Linked DNA regions of Homo sapiens: all the other regions are linked to region 1. The links are contacts of gene promoters, found by promoter capture Hi-C in blood cells and fetal thymus (Javierre and others, 2016). All regions are on one chromosome and are shown on one strand. Each heading gives the region's core, a stretch centred on a gene start or on the middle of the fragment in contact. The rest is flanking DNA. Distances are from core to core; before and after follow the strand shown.

Region 1 (4,080 bases), core at 220-2,719:
GCTTCTTCTGGGGACTTGGGGATGTCACCCTCCTTGGGCTGGATGGCTTCCTCTAGGGACTTGGGGAGGTCACCCTCCTTGGGCTGGATGGCTTCTTCTGGGGACTTGGAGATGTCACCCTCCTTGGGCTGGCTGGGCTTCACTGAGGCCTTGGGAATATTGCCCAGCTTGGGCTGGATGGGCTTTGCTGAGGACTTGGGGATGTCACCCTCCTTGGGCTGGATGGTTTCTTCTGGGGACTTGGGGATATCACTCTCCTTGGGCTGGCTGGGCTTCACTGAGGTCTTGGCAATATTGCCCAGCTTGGGCTGGATGGGTTTTGCTGAGGACTTGGGGATGTCACCCTCTTTGGGCTGGATGGCTTCTTCTGAGGACTTGGGGAGGTCCTCCTTCTTGGATTGGATGGTTTCTTCTGGGGCCTTGGGGATGTCACCCTCCTTGGGCTGGCTGGGCTTCACTGAGGCCTTGGGAATATTGCCCAGCTTGGGCTGGATGGGTTTTGCTGAGGACTTGGGGATGTTACTCTCTTTGGGCTGGATGGCTTTTTCTGAGGACTTGGGGAGGTCCTCCTTCTTGGATTGGATGGTTTCTTCTGGGGCCTTGGGGATGTCACCCTCCTTGGGCTGGATGGTTTCTTCTGAGGACTTGGGGCTGTCATCCTGCTTGGGATGGCTGGTGTTTGCTGAGGACTTGGGTAGGTCATCGCCCTCCTGTGAGGCATCAGACTCCTCTGTGCGCATGTGGAACGTGTGGCTGACCATGGGGAGAAAGGCCTTCTCTTTGGCCTGGGCTATTTCCAAGAACTCTAGGGCCAGGAGAGGCACGTTGCTGGACAGGACTAGTAATGAGCTTTCTGTACCAAAAAACATAAAATAAAATAAAATAAAATAAATCAAATAGAAATGCAAAAGAAGAACCAAAGAAATTCTCTTCATATTCCAAGGAAGACTGATGTCACTCTTCGAGATCACGAATGAAGTCTGATGAATGATGTATTAATCTGAAAAACTCATTCAGCAGAAGGACAAACAGCGTGTGGTTACACGTATCTTCTGTATACATGTTCTTAAGCTACAACTTTCCCTTCTTGGTTCAACACCCTGCCCGCTCCCTAACTGCATAGGTCTTTAAGGCAACCCTCTTTCCTCCCCTACTTACCATTAGCATCACCTTCACTTGTTTCTTCCTGAGTGCCCAGCCTCATTTCTGGTTTTCCAGAGGCTCCAGCTTTAACACTTTCCATTCCTAGTTCCTTGTCTACATCCATTCCTGATCCTTCATAGATGCCTCATAGTAAAGGCCGTACCCTCCAACTTTTTCCAAGCTATCCATCCTAACATCAAAATATGAGTAAAACTTACATTTGGGTGGCACGTTACAGTTGGTTTTCCCTCTCTGTATTCACAACAGTGATATTTGAGAGCTTCAAGGTGGCTCCCCTGTGCTGAGGCTGGGACTACGCATTCACTGGCATCATTTCCTAGAACACAACAAACCACTGAGGTCAGAACCATTATGATGAGTAGTTTACACATGAGAAGCTATGTAGCTCACTTAAGGTCACAAAGCTAGGGTGGGGGCAGGCTCCAAAGCTCATGCTCTGCACTGTGAGGCTGTGCTGGACTGCTCGCCACAAGTCCCGTCCAGCCTGGGTTCTGTGAATCAACCATCTTATCATCTTTCTCCAGGATCCCCCAGCTCCAACATTCTCTTTACGACTCACCCATTGTGACCAGCTCCTAAGTATCTCCTCGAAACCATGTTAGCCTCCTCTGCAAAGTGTCCCACAATGTCAAATGTTCAGCTCCTGCTAGACAGCCTCTTTCCCCACCTCCCCCACCTCCCAGGCGCACCAGCCCAGCCTGTGCCCTCCCCCATGCAGACACATCCAAGTACACGGCTCTTCCAGCCTTTACATACAGGAGAACAACCTCTTTGTGAATAATCCTGGTTCCATAAGCCACATCTACCCCATCCTGTGGAATGGGAAGCCAAATACCTGTCCCCCAGGGAGACTTATTTTATTAGTTCAGGACCACTGGCTCATTTTCCACCCTCACTCTGCACAACACATCCAGTCCAAGGCAGGAAGAATCAGTGTGGAATTTTGCCTTCTCTACATGTACTTTGAACAAATCCTCATATGTTTCAGTTTCACCCCAACAATATAAGTGTTGAAAGTGGTCAGGCATGGTGGCTCACACCGTGATCTCAGTACTTTGGGAGGCCAAGGTGGGAGGATTTCTTGAGCCCAGGAGTTTGAGATCAGCCTAGGCAACATAGCAAGACCCCATCTCTACAAAAAATACAAAACCTAGCCAGGCACAGTGGCACACGCCTGTCCCAGCTACTTGGGAAGCTGAGGTGGGAGGCTTGCTTGAGCCAGTGAGTTCAAGACTGCAGTGAGCCGTGATCACTACATCGTACTCTAGCCTGGGCAACAGAGCAAGGCCCCGTCTCTAAAAACTAAAAATAAAAGTGTTGAAATCTAAATGATAAGACCTCCACATTGTCAATAGAAACCTCGAAACATCTAATGGCAATGGTTCAATTATCTGGATTTTTATACCAAAACACATTTTACTAAGGGGTAGAGAGACTATTGGCCTTAGCAAATCCATAGTTCCTTTTTTTTTTTTCTTTGAGACAGTCTTGCCCTGTCACCGAGGCTGGAGTGCAGTGGCACAATCTCGACTCACTGCAACCTCTATCTCCCAGGTTCAAGCAATTCTCTTGCCTCACCCTCTCGAGTAGCTGGGATTACAGGCATTCACCACCACACCCGGCTAATTTTTGTATTTTTTTTAGTCGAGACAGGGTTTCACCATGTTAGCAAGGCTGGTCTCTAACTCCTGACCTCAAACGATCCACCTGCCTCAGCCTCCCAAATTGCTGGGATTACAGGCGTGAGCCACCATGCCTGGCCCAGCAAATCCGTAGTTCTTGATGATATGAATCCTGTTCCAGGAAGAGCTCATGCTTCCACTCCGTTTCCTCGGTTACTGCCAAAGAAAGCTCTTCCCTCTCTCACTGGGAGACTTTGGGCCTTTCTTATGTGATATTTTAAAGGACGGGAGGTTGTCTTCACTCTCCAATGCCAACGGCTTCCACAGCTGACAGGACTGTTTTTCATGGTGCCCTATTTTAAAGCAGAGGATGAAAATAAACGTCAGGCACTTATCTGGGCAATGTCTTCTTTCTTAGTGTTAGGAGAAAGGAGGTGAAGCGGGGAGGATAGGCATCATTTGCAGAAACCATCATGAGCAGATTTTATTAGCACAAAGTGGGCAGCATCTTTGGCCCTTGCTCATTGGTAAGTTAATTTACTTCCTGGGACCCTATCTTGTACAGGGTCCCTGCTGTTTGGAAGGGAGTGGATGAGGACACAGAGGAACTCCATCGCTGAGAGGCAGAAGTGAAAACATCACTCCTGCCATCCCAGTAGATGTGGAGGCAAGAGGACAGATGCCTGTGTCCCGGCCTCCTTTCTCCAGGTTGATTGCCAGCACAGATACTAATCAGATGTGCTACTCTACTAAAAATGCGATTTTAGATCTCTACTAAAAATACGAAAGTTAGCCGGATGTGGTGACAAATGTCTGTAATCCCAGCTACTCAGGAGGCTGAGGCAGGAGAATCGCTTGAACCTGGGAAGCAGAGGTTGCAGTGAGCGGAGATGGTGCCACTGCACTCTAGCCTGAGCAACAGAGCAAGACTCTCTCAAAAAAAGAAAAAAAAAAAAGATAAAAAAAGACTTGCAGCTGAAAGCAGAGGGGCATCTGCCTCCTGCTCCACTTGGAAGGCCAGGATGAGCCCACGTGGACTTCACATCCAACACAGCACTGTCCTCGTGCAGCGTGGCCCCTAGTAGAGGGTAAGAATGGATGTGTGGACCTGGGGCAGGCCCCACAGCCTGCAGGGAGGAGGTTAAAGATCTAGCAACGATGTACACCTCAGAGAGTGGCTGGGAGTGCTCTGAGACTGGTGAAAGATAGAGGCCTAGAGGAAGAAGACTCAGAGGAGGAGGATCTGTGACCAGAGGCAAGGACTGGAATCACAGACTCCAGCAGTGAGTAACAT
Region 2 (3,622 bases), core at 581-3,080, 630 kb before region 1:
CAAATGGCTGAGAAAGGGCCACCCCTAACAGATGCGCCAAGCATATTATACTGAGAAGTCCCACTTAGGTATACGTTGGCTGGGGAGAGTCCTGGCGTTCATTCCTTCTCCCGCGTAGCCTTATGGGTCTCTTCAGAAAACACATGGTGGCGCTGCCTGCACGTGCCTTTACAAGCTGCAAGCCGTCCAAACAAAAGTGGTTAGTTTCTGCCTCTTGGGATTACAGTCAGATTCTGGCAACATTTCGCATTCATAACTGAACTTTCCACATAAAAGCGATCTCTCTCACTGTTTTGTACACAAAGTGAGGCAGCATTGTCCGAGTACAGTAATGTTGGAAAGAGATGAAGCATTGTAAATGTTTAACAACAGATCTCTGTTAAATCCACTCTAACGAACACAACCGTTTTGATGAATATTATTTTTAAAGAGAGAGAAAAATACAGATCTTCCTTTGCAAGCTATCTTTGAATAAAAGATAAAACCAACACACTGAATTGGCTTAGTGGAAACCCGTCATGTATTTCATTAGACCACTTGCAGATAGCCTAGTGCCAACCTATAAATGTTCTCTCTTGAAAACCACATCCCATAGATATACAGCAATCATTTTCTTTCAAGGAGGATATATTCACGCAGTTACATTTTGTACAAATATAAAGTAGGCAAAATTGAAAGAATACAACATAAAACATGACTCATTAATGAAGTTTGTGAATTACTCATTCACAAACTGCATTAATGAATTTTTTTAAATAACATGTCTTCCAAATTAAGAATTCCTCAAGAAGTGCACGTTTGGAAGCTGCCAGGAATAAAGAGCTGTGGACTGGGTTTATGCTATTCATTCTTTAGGCACTCATTCAACAAGTATGTGTGGAATGGTTTCTCCATGCAGGCACTGTTCTAGGCTCTGGGAGACAGCCCTGAATGCAGCAGGGATTCACAGAGCTGACATTCTAGCACAGGGCATATGGGTGGGGTTGTGGAGTCCAGTAGGAAACTGGCTAAGGCGGTGTAGACACAGTGCTAGAGGGGGTCAACACTCAGGAAAACAAAGCAGGATGTGGGAATGGGAGGGCACCCGTGAGTGTGGGGTGAGTTTCTTCACCAGGTAGGTGACAATGAAATAAAGCTCTGAAGGAGTGGTGGCCTGAGACCTGGGATATCTGGACAAAGATAGTTGCCGATAAAGAAGGAATAGCAAATTTGTGAGGCAGAGTATGCGGGCGCCTGGCCCCACATTCCAGGGGAGAATGGGGAGGTGACGAGGTTGCAGGGGCCAAGGGTGACTTGGCTAGAAAAGCAACACATGACTCCCTTTGTGAAGATTGGATTAAAATTATGCAATGGTTGCATTAAGTTTGAAAATCTTCAGGGACACATTTCTTGCAACTTCCCTCTACTCGTGTAATTAGAAATGAATAAATGTTAATAAGGAAGCTGAAAAGGCTCTAATGGTCTAGAACGTTATATAAAGCTTACTGGAACATGACGTTCTCAAAGTGTACTAGGATTGCAAAAGCAGCCACAGGACCCTTATTTTCCAGATTCCTGTGGAGCTGAGGAGGAGGAATCACAGCCTAATGGAGGGACACATGGCAAAGGAGCATGGAGCTGTGTGCTAGCAGGTGCACAGCGGGGTCATGGCCACTGTTGTTCAGTGGGGCCACCAGATCACAGATGAACACTGCAGCCGTTTCACATGTGACTGCCCTCATCCTTCATTTCCTATCCCCCACTGCGTGGAGCCCTTGGGTCACAGTTACGGCTGGAGGAGGCTGTGGATTCAGAAACGCAGTTGTGGATAAGGAAAGGTTTAGCACTGCCCACAAATGAAAAGAGACCTTCCAGATTTAGAGAAAAGGAAAAAAGCAAACAAAACAAAATAAAAACCCTCTTTTCTCCAGCTCCCAACATAATCAGAGATGAAAGAAGACAGTTTTAGCCTGGTAAATAAGAAAATAAACAAGAGCTTGAAATGGATAAGTTTTTTCTTCTAAATTTGTTTTTGCAAAGGGTTTTTCTTCCCTGAAAAACAAAATACTAAAATAGCAAGTTGTGTTTTCATTTATAAATCCTTCTCAAGAGGAAATCTAATAATAACAAGGGGTTTCCATTGGATTCCAACTTATTTCATAATGTAAATATATTTCTATCCTCTGGGGAAAAAAGCTTCCCCAAGCCAGGTATTTATCGTTTAAATTTGTGATTTTATTCACTTCCATTTTTCCCTCTCTTTTACCTTGAACAGCCTCTCAAACTGAAGAGGAGTGTTCAGTTCTACAGCTTATTAGATAGGGCCTCTTCATTCAACGATGCAAAGTTTAGAAAGAACGTGGACGATGACTTGCTATGTTTTGTTCTACATCCAATCAGAAGAGTAGCTTGTGGCTCAAAAAGTCTTATCTTAGAAGATCAAATGTCCACATTTTAAGAGAGCGGGGCTGTATACTAGAAAGAAAAATGGATTAGAGTCAGTCATACTTTCAAACCTCAGCAGTATTTCTTATGTTATTTAAAGACATATATTATCTGGTTTCTTTGAGCTTCAGTTTCTTCTCCTATAAAATGGGAAGAATAATAATGTGGTGGATTAAAAATGGCAGCCAAATCTCTGACCCTCTTCCATTGAGAGGGGGACTCTGTCCCATCCTCTTGAATGCAGGTGGGTTTTGTGACTGCTTTGACCAAAAGAACAAGGATGTGATACTGTGCCAGTCTCAGGGCCCAATCTTCAAGGCACAGGCAGCTCCCACTTCCCATCTCTCAAAACATGAAATAGCTCTTGGAACCCTGAACAGTGCAACTCCCTTGAGGCTGCCATGATGTGAGGAAGCTCAAGCCACCCCGGTAGAGGTCTATGAGCAGAGAAGCAATGGCCAGCTGCCCCGCATCTCCCAGCTGCAGCCATTAGAGCCGTCCCAGCAAAGCTTCCAACCGTGAAGCTGAGTGGAGCTCCTCTGACTGTGCCCTGTCCAAATTTTCCATCCACATCATCAGGAGATACAATAATACTGTTTTAATCCATTGAGCTTTGAGATGGCTTGTTAAGCAGCAATAGATAAACATACTAAATGCTTATGTTGTGGAGCTACTGTCAGTTTTACAAATAATACCTCCAAGGCGCCTACACAGAATGGACACATAGGGAACATTCAGTAAATAGGAGCCATCATTTGTACTGTTGTTCTCATGATCTTCCCACAAGAGCGTTTATTAGAAATGTGATCAGAGAATCCTTTCTGAGCTCACAGAAGGCATTGAAATCCCTCACAGCTGACTTGCGTGGGAGTACACGGGCTTTGGGATGGCAAATCCTTCCTAGCCCAAGCCAGTCAGGTGCAGGAGAGCCACTAAAACCCTGCCAGTGCCTGCACTGCCGTTAAACATGTGTCCTCTCAGTAAACGAGACATGCTGTCCCTGCATTCCAGAAACATTGCAGCTCCACCTTGTTCTTGTATTTTTTCCTCCCCTATAAATCTCCCTGGTTACCTAAACTCAGTAGGCAACTAAGCACAATTGGGTTTACAGAAGGCAAGGTGACCTAAGAGATCTTTGAATGTAGCTGTTGATGTCCAGACTGCACGGAGAGCAGTCCAGCCAGGTTGAGAGCCTCTC
Region 3 (3,680 bases), core at 425-2,924, 650 kb before region 1:
TTGATTTGCATTTCTCTAATGATCAATGATGATGAGCTGTTTTTCATGTTTCTTGGCTGTATGTCTTCTTTTTCTACAAGGAACTTAAATTTACAAGAAAAAAAAAACCCAATCAAAAAGTGGGCAAAGGATATGAAATACAATTATTTTATCCCTAATTCATGAAAGTAAATGACTCAAATACATTGTATAGCAATAAAGATATTTAAAATGAAATGCTTCACATGATTACTCTCCCAATCAAGCTTCATTAAACCCAATCAAAAAGGTACCAGGTAATTTCTACACAGAGTTCATCATCACTTCACAGACCTTTGGGAAATCTATGAAAATAGAAAAAACCAAAAACCTTGCTCTTTACTGTTTTCTAAGCACTTCTTATTCTTTAAACATTTACCAAGTCCCTACTACATACAAGACCTATGCCAAGGATCACAAACTGGCAGCCCAATGACTCTATCTCACTTCCAAGTGTGTTTTGCTTGATCCATGCAGTATTTTTAAATTAGATACTTTCATGAAAATTGTTTTATGGCTTTCTTCAAAAAAATATCAAAAGCTACGGCATCAGCAGGCTTGCATCCCTGTATGGCAACAGGCTGGGGCTGGGCAGCACTGTCCCGCCACATGAGCATGCACCTCCTGGCGCTTCTCCCCGCTCTTCACTTCCAAATGCCCTCCACGTCCCAGCTGCTCATTCATTTTAGTTATTCCTCTACACCCTGAGTTCATCTGAGTTTGCAACCCTCTTCCATGACTAATAAATTCTGTATCTTACTATTAATCTACACATCTCAGGATCATGCAGTCCTAATGTCTAATATCTCCAAATCAAACATTTTAAAAATAAACTTAAAAAAAAACACCGTTTAAAAGCTAGTTATAAAGTTTACATAAGCAACTTATTTAGTGTTGACTTGCTGTATCTTAAGGTAGGCTCCACACTGACATCTCATGGGTGGTTTACAAATCTGCCTATTCAGTCCCTTGCTAAGTTGACAAATTCATTAGGATACCCTTAACAAAACTGGTCTCATTTTCGCCAACCCCAAAACATAACTTTATTATTTAGCTATGGAAACTAACAATAACACAGACTGAAAGACACTGTATGAAATAAGACTGCTATCATTCACTCAAGCAGAATGAAATGCTAATGCATTTCCAAACCTCAGTGAAAAAATAAAAACAATACTTTTTTTGTTATAAAACCAAAAGTCAATGAAAGAATCCGAGTCTACAATATCTGCTGAAAAATATCTGAATGAACAGGGGAGGTAAACCTAACAAAATCTCTCTCAGACACATTAGTCCTGAGGGTCATTTTGGCTTTTAAAGAATACAACTGAACCTTGAACAGCAGAGATTTAAACTGTGCTGGTCCAATTATACGCAGACTGTCTTGCTCCTCTGCCACCTGAGACAGCAAAACCAACCCCTCTTCTTCCTCCTCCTCCTCTTCCTCCTCCTCAGCCCAAACGTGAAGACTATGATGAGGATGAAGAGCCCTATGATGCTCTACTTCCACTTAAAGAACACTAAATATATTTTCTCTTCCTTACGATTTTCTTAATATTTTCTTTTCTCTAGCTTTATTCTAAGAATACAGTATAAAACATATTCCATACAACATACAACATATGTACTAACTGACTGTTTATATTATTTATAAGACTTCCAGTCAGTAGTAGGGTAGTGGCTCACGCCTATAATCCCAGCACTTTGGGAGGTTGAGGCAGAAGTATCACTTGAGCCCAGGAGTTTGAGCCCAGCCTGGGAAAAACAGCGAGAACCAGTCTCTACCAAAAAAATTAAAAAATTAGCAGGGCATGGTGACATGCACCTATAGTCCCAGCTACTCAGGAGGCTGAGGTGGGAGGATCGCCTGAGCCCAGGAGGTTGAGGCTGCAGTAAGCCATGATTGTGCCACTGCAATCCAGCCTGGGCAACAGAGCAAGATCCTGTCTCAAAAAAAAAAAACAAAAACAGGCTATTAGTAAAGTTTTTGGGGAGTAAAAAGTTATATGTAGAGTTTCAACTGCACAAGGGGTTGGCATCCCAACCCTTGGGTAGTTCAAGGGTCAACTGTATTTCCTCCCCAAATATACCTACCCACTAATTACATATATAATGTGAATCTACAACATAAAAGCATTTGGGAGGATAAAAAAACCACAGGAACTATTCGTCATGAGTTTTACCCAGTAGATAGAGCAAAAAATACATTAGAAGGCAGTAAAAATGGCATCCGAGTCCTATTTGTTGTTTAAAAATTAGCAACTACATCTTCCTGTTTTTGCGTAAAATCAAGTGAGGCTGTGAGTAAGAGGTCCAACCACAATATTGATACTTCTCCATAAAAAATGATGAGCTGCCTACTTGAAAGTTATACCCTCCACCATAAATATGCCTATTTTCAATGGCTGTGTGCCAGTGGAGCAAACAGGATATGAAATCACAGCAGTCATCAAGTGACAGAACCAAAGGTTGATCCAACAAGTTTCTGTGGCTTCCCTTGTGCATATGTCTACAAAATGGCACTCCCCAAGCCTTTCTGGTGAATCAGTGTGAAGGTTTGTATGACAAATTGGTAGAAATTTTAGCCCACAGAATTGTGGACCACGTAGCTCAGGGGTCCTGTGCTCCCAACAGTGTCCAAAGGCATTTAATTTAAATATAAGACAATGCCAGAAAGCATTTTCCTTCATCTGTTTCCCTATCCACTAAGTTAATTTTCTTTCATTCAAAGTAGTGCCTTTCCAACCCTCAAATTAAATAGATACTTGAGCAATGGAAATGATGCCTGAATAATAACTTTTGATGAAGATTCAAGTCTTAGTACAGCTGTTGTAATATAAACTGAGGCTGTGAGAATTAGAGTGTTTGAGCATTTCTTAAACAGGCATGAAGTACACTAAGAATGTAACAGCCACCTGGGAGCTTCCTAATTCTCAGAGGAAAATGAGACATAAGAAGACCAGAGCAGATCCCCAGCTTCTTTGGCCGTAAGAGAAACTCTATGGTTTCAAAGGAACTGTGGTTAATAACCTAACTTGCGGCACCAAATACCAATTCAGTTGCATGTTTGGCCAGAAAAGCTTTATTTCAATGGATATATAATAGTTTATAATAAGGAAGCATCATAATTTATTTAAACACTTTCCTATTATTATTATTACTTTGAGACAGAGTCTCGCTCTGTTGCCCAGGCTGGAGTGCAATGGCACGATCTCGGCTCACTGCAAACTCTGCCTCCTGGGTTCAAGCAATTCTCCTGCCTCAGCCTCCCAAGTAGCTGGGATTACAGGCGCCCGCCACCATGCCCAGCTAATTTTTGTATTTTTAGAAGAGACAGGGTTTCACCATGTTGGCCAGGCTGGTCTCGAACTCCTGATCTCAGGTAATCCACCCACGTTGGCCTCCCAAAGTGCTGGGATTACAGGCATGAGCCACTACATCCAACCTCACTTTCCTATTATTCAAAATTTAGATAATTGGCATTTCTTCAAGAAACAACCTGATGCATAAATCTTTGATCTCTCTCTCTCGATGATAGACTCACAGAATTGAAATTCCTGGGTCAAAGACTATAAAATCTTTTAAACTAAGTATGTTAACAGCTATTACTAACATTCTTTAACTTTTCGGTATTTTTTATTGTCTACAATGAGCATGTGTTC

What was found. The method cuts DNA at HindIII sites, captures the fragments that hold promoters and counts their contacts. A CHiCAGO score of 5 or more calls a contact.
Region 2: a contact is called between a fragment that was not itself captured here and the fragment with the promoter of TXNDC2 in region 1, in 1 of 17 cell types (naive CD4 T cells). The highest score is 5.1, in naive CD4 T cells.
Region 3: a fragment that was not itself captured here is called in contact with the fragment with the promoter of TXNDC2 in region 1 in 2 of 17 cell types (naive CD4 T cells and naive CD8 T cells); the score reaches 5.8 in naive CD4 T cells.

The regions. Positions count from the first base shown.
Region 1 is chr18:9,883,362-9,887,441 of GRCh38, reverse strand. It overlaps TXNDC2 (thioredoxin domain containing 2), which reads right to left and starts at 1,469. Exons shown (of 2, transcript NM_032243.6): 1 at 1,362-1,469; 2 at 1-853. The coding sequence starts at 761. The HindIII fragment of the contact is 12,861 bases long and covers 1-4,080 here.
Region 2 is chr18:10,516,808-10,520,429 of GRCh38, reverse strand. No RefSeq gene overlaps it. Among named protein-coding and RNA genes, the nearest start is that of NAPG, 7.4 kb to the left of the region's middle. The HindIII fragment of the contact is 695 bases long and covers 1,483-2,177 here.
Region 3 is chr18:10,535,263-10,538,942 of GRCh38, reverse strand. All of the region lies in intron 5 of NAPG (NSF attachment protein gamma), which reads right to left. Among named protein-coding and RNA genes, the nearest start is that of NAPG, 11 kb to the right of the region's middle. The HindIII fragment of the contact is 2,853 bases long and covers 248-3,100 here.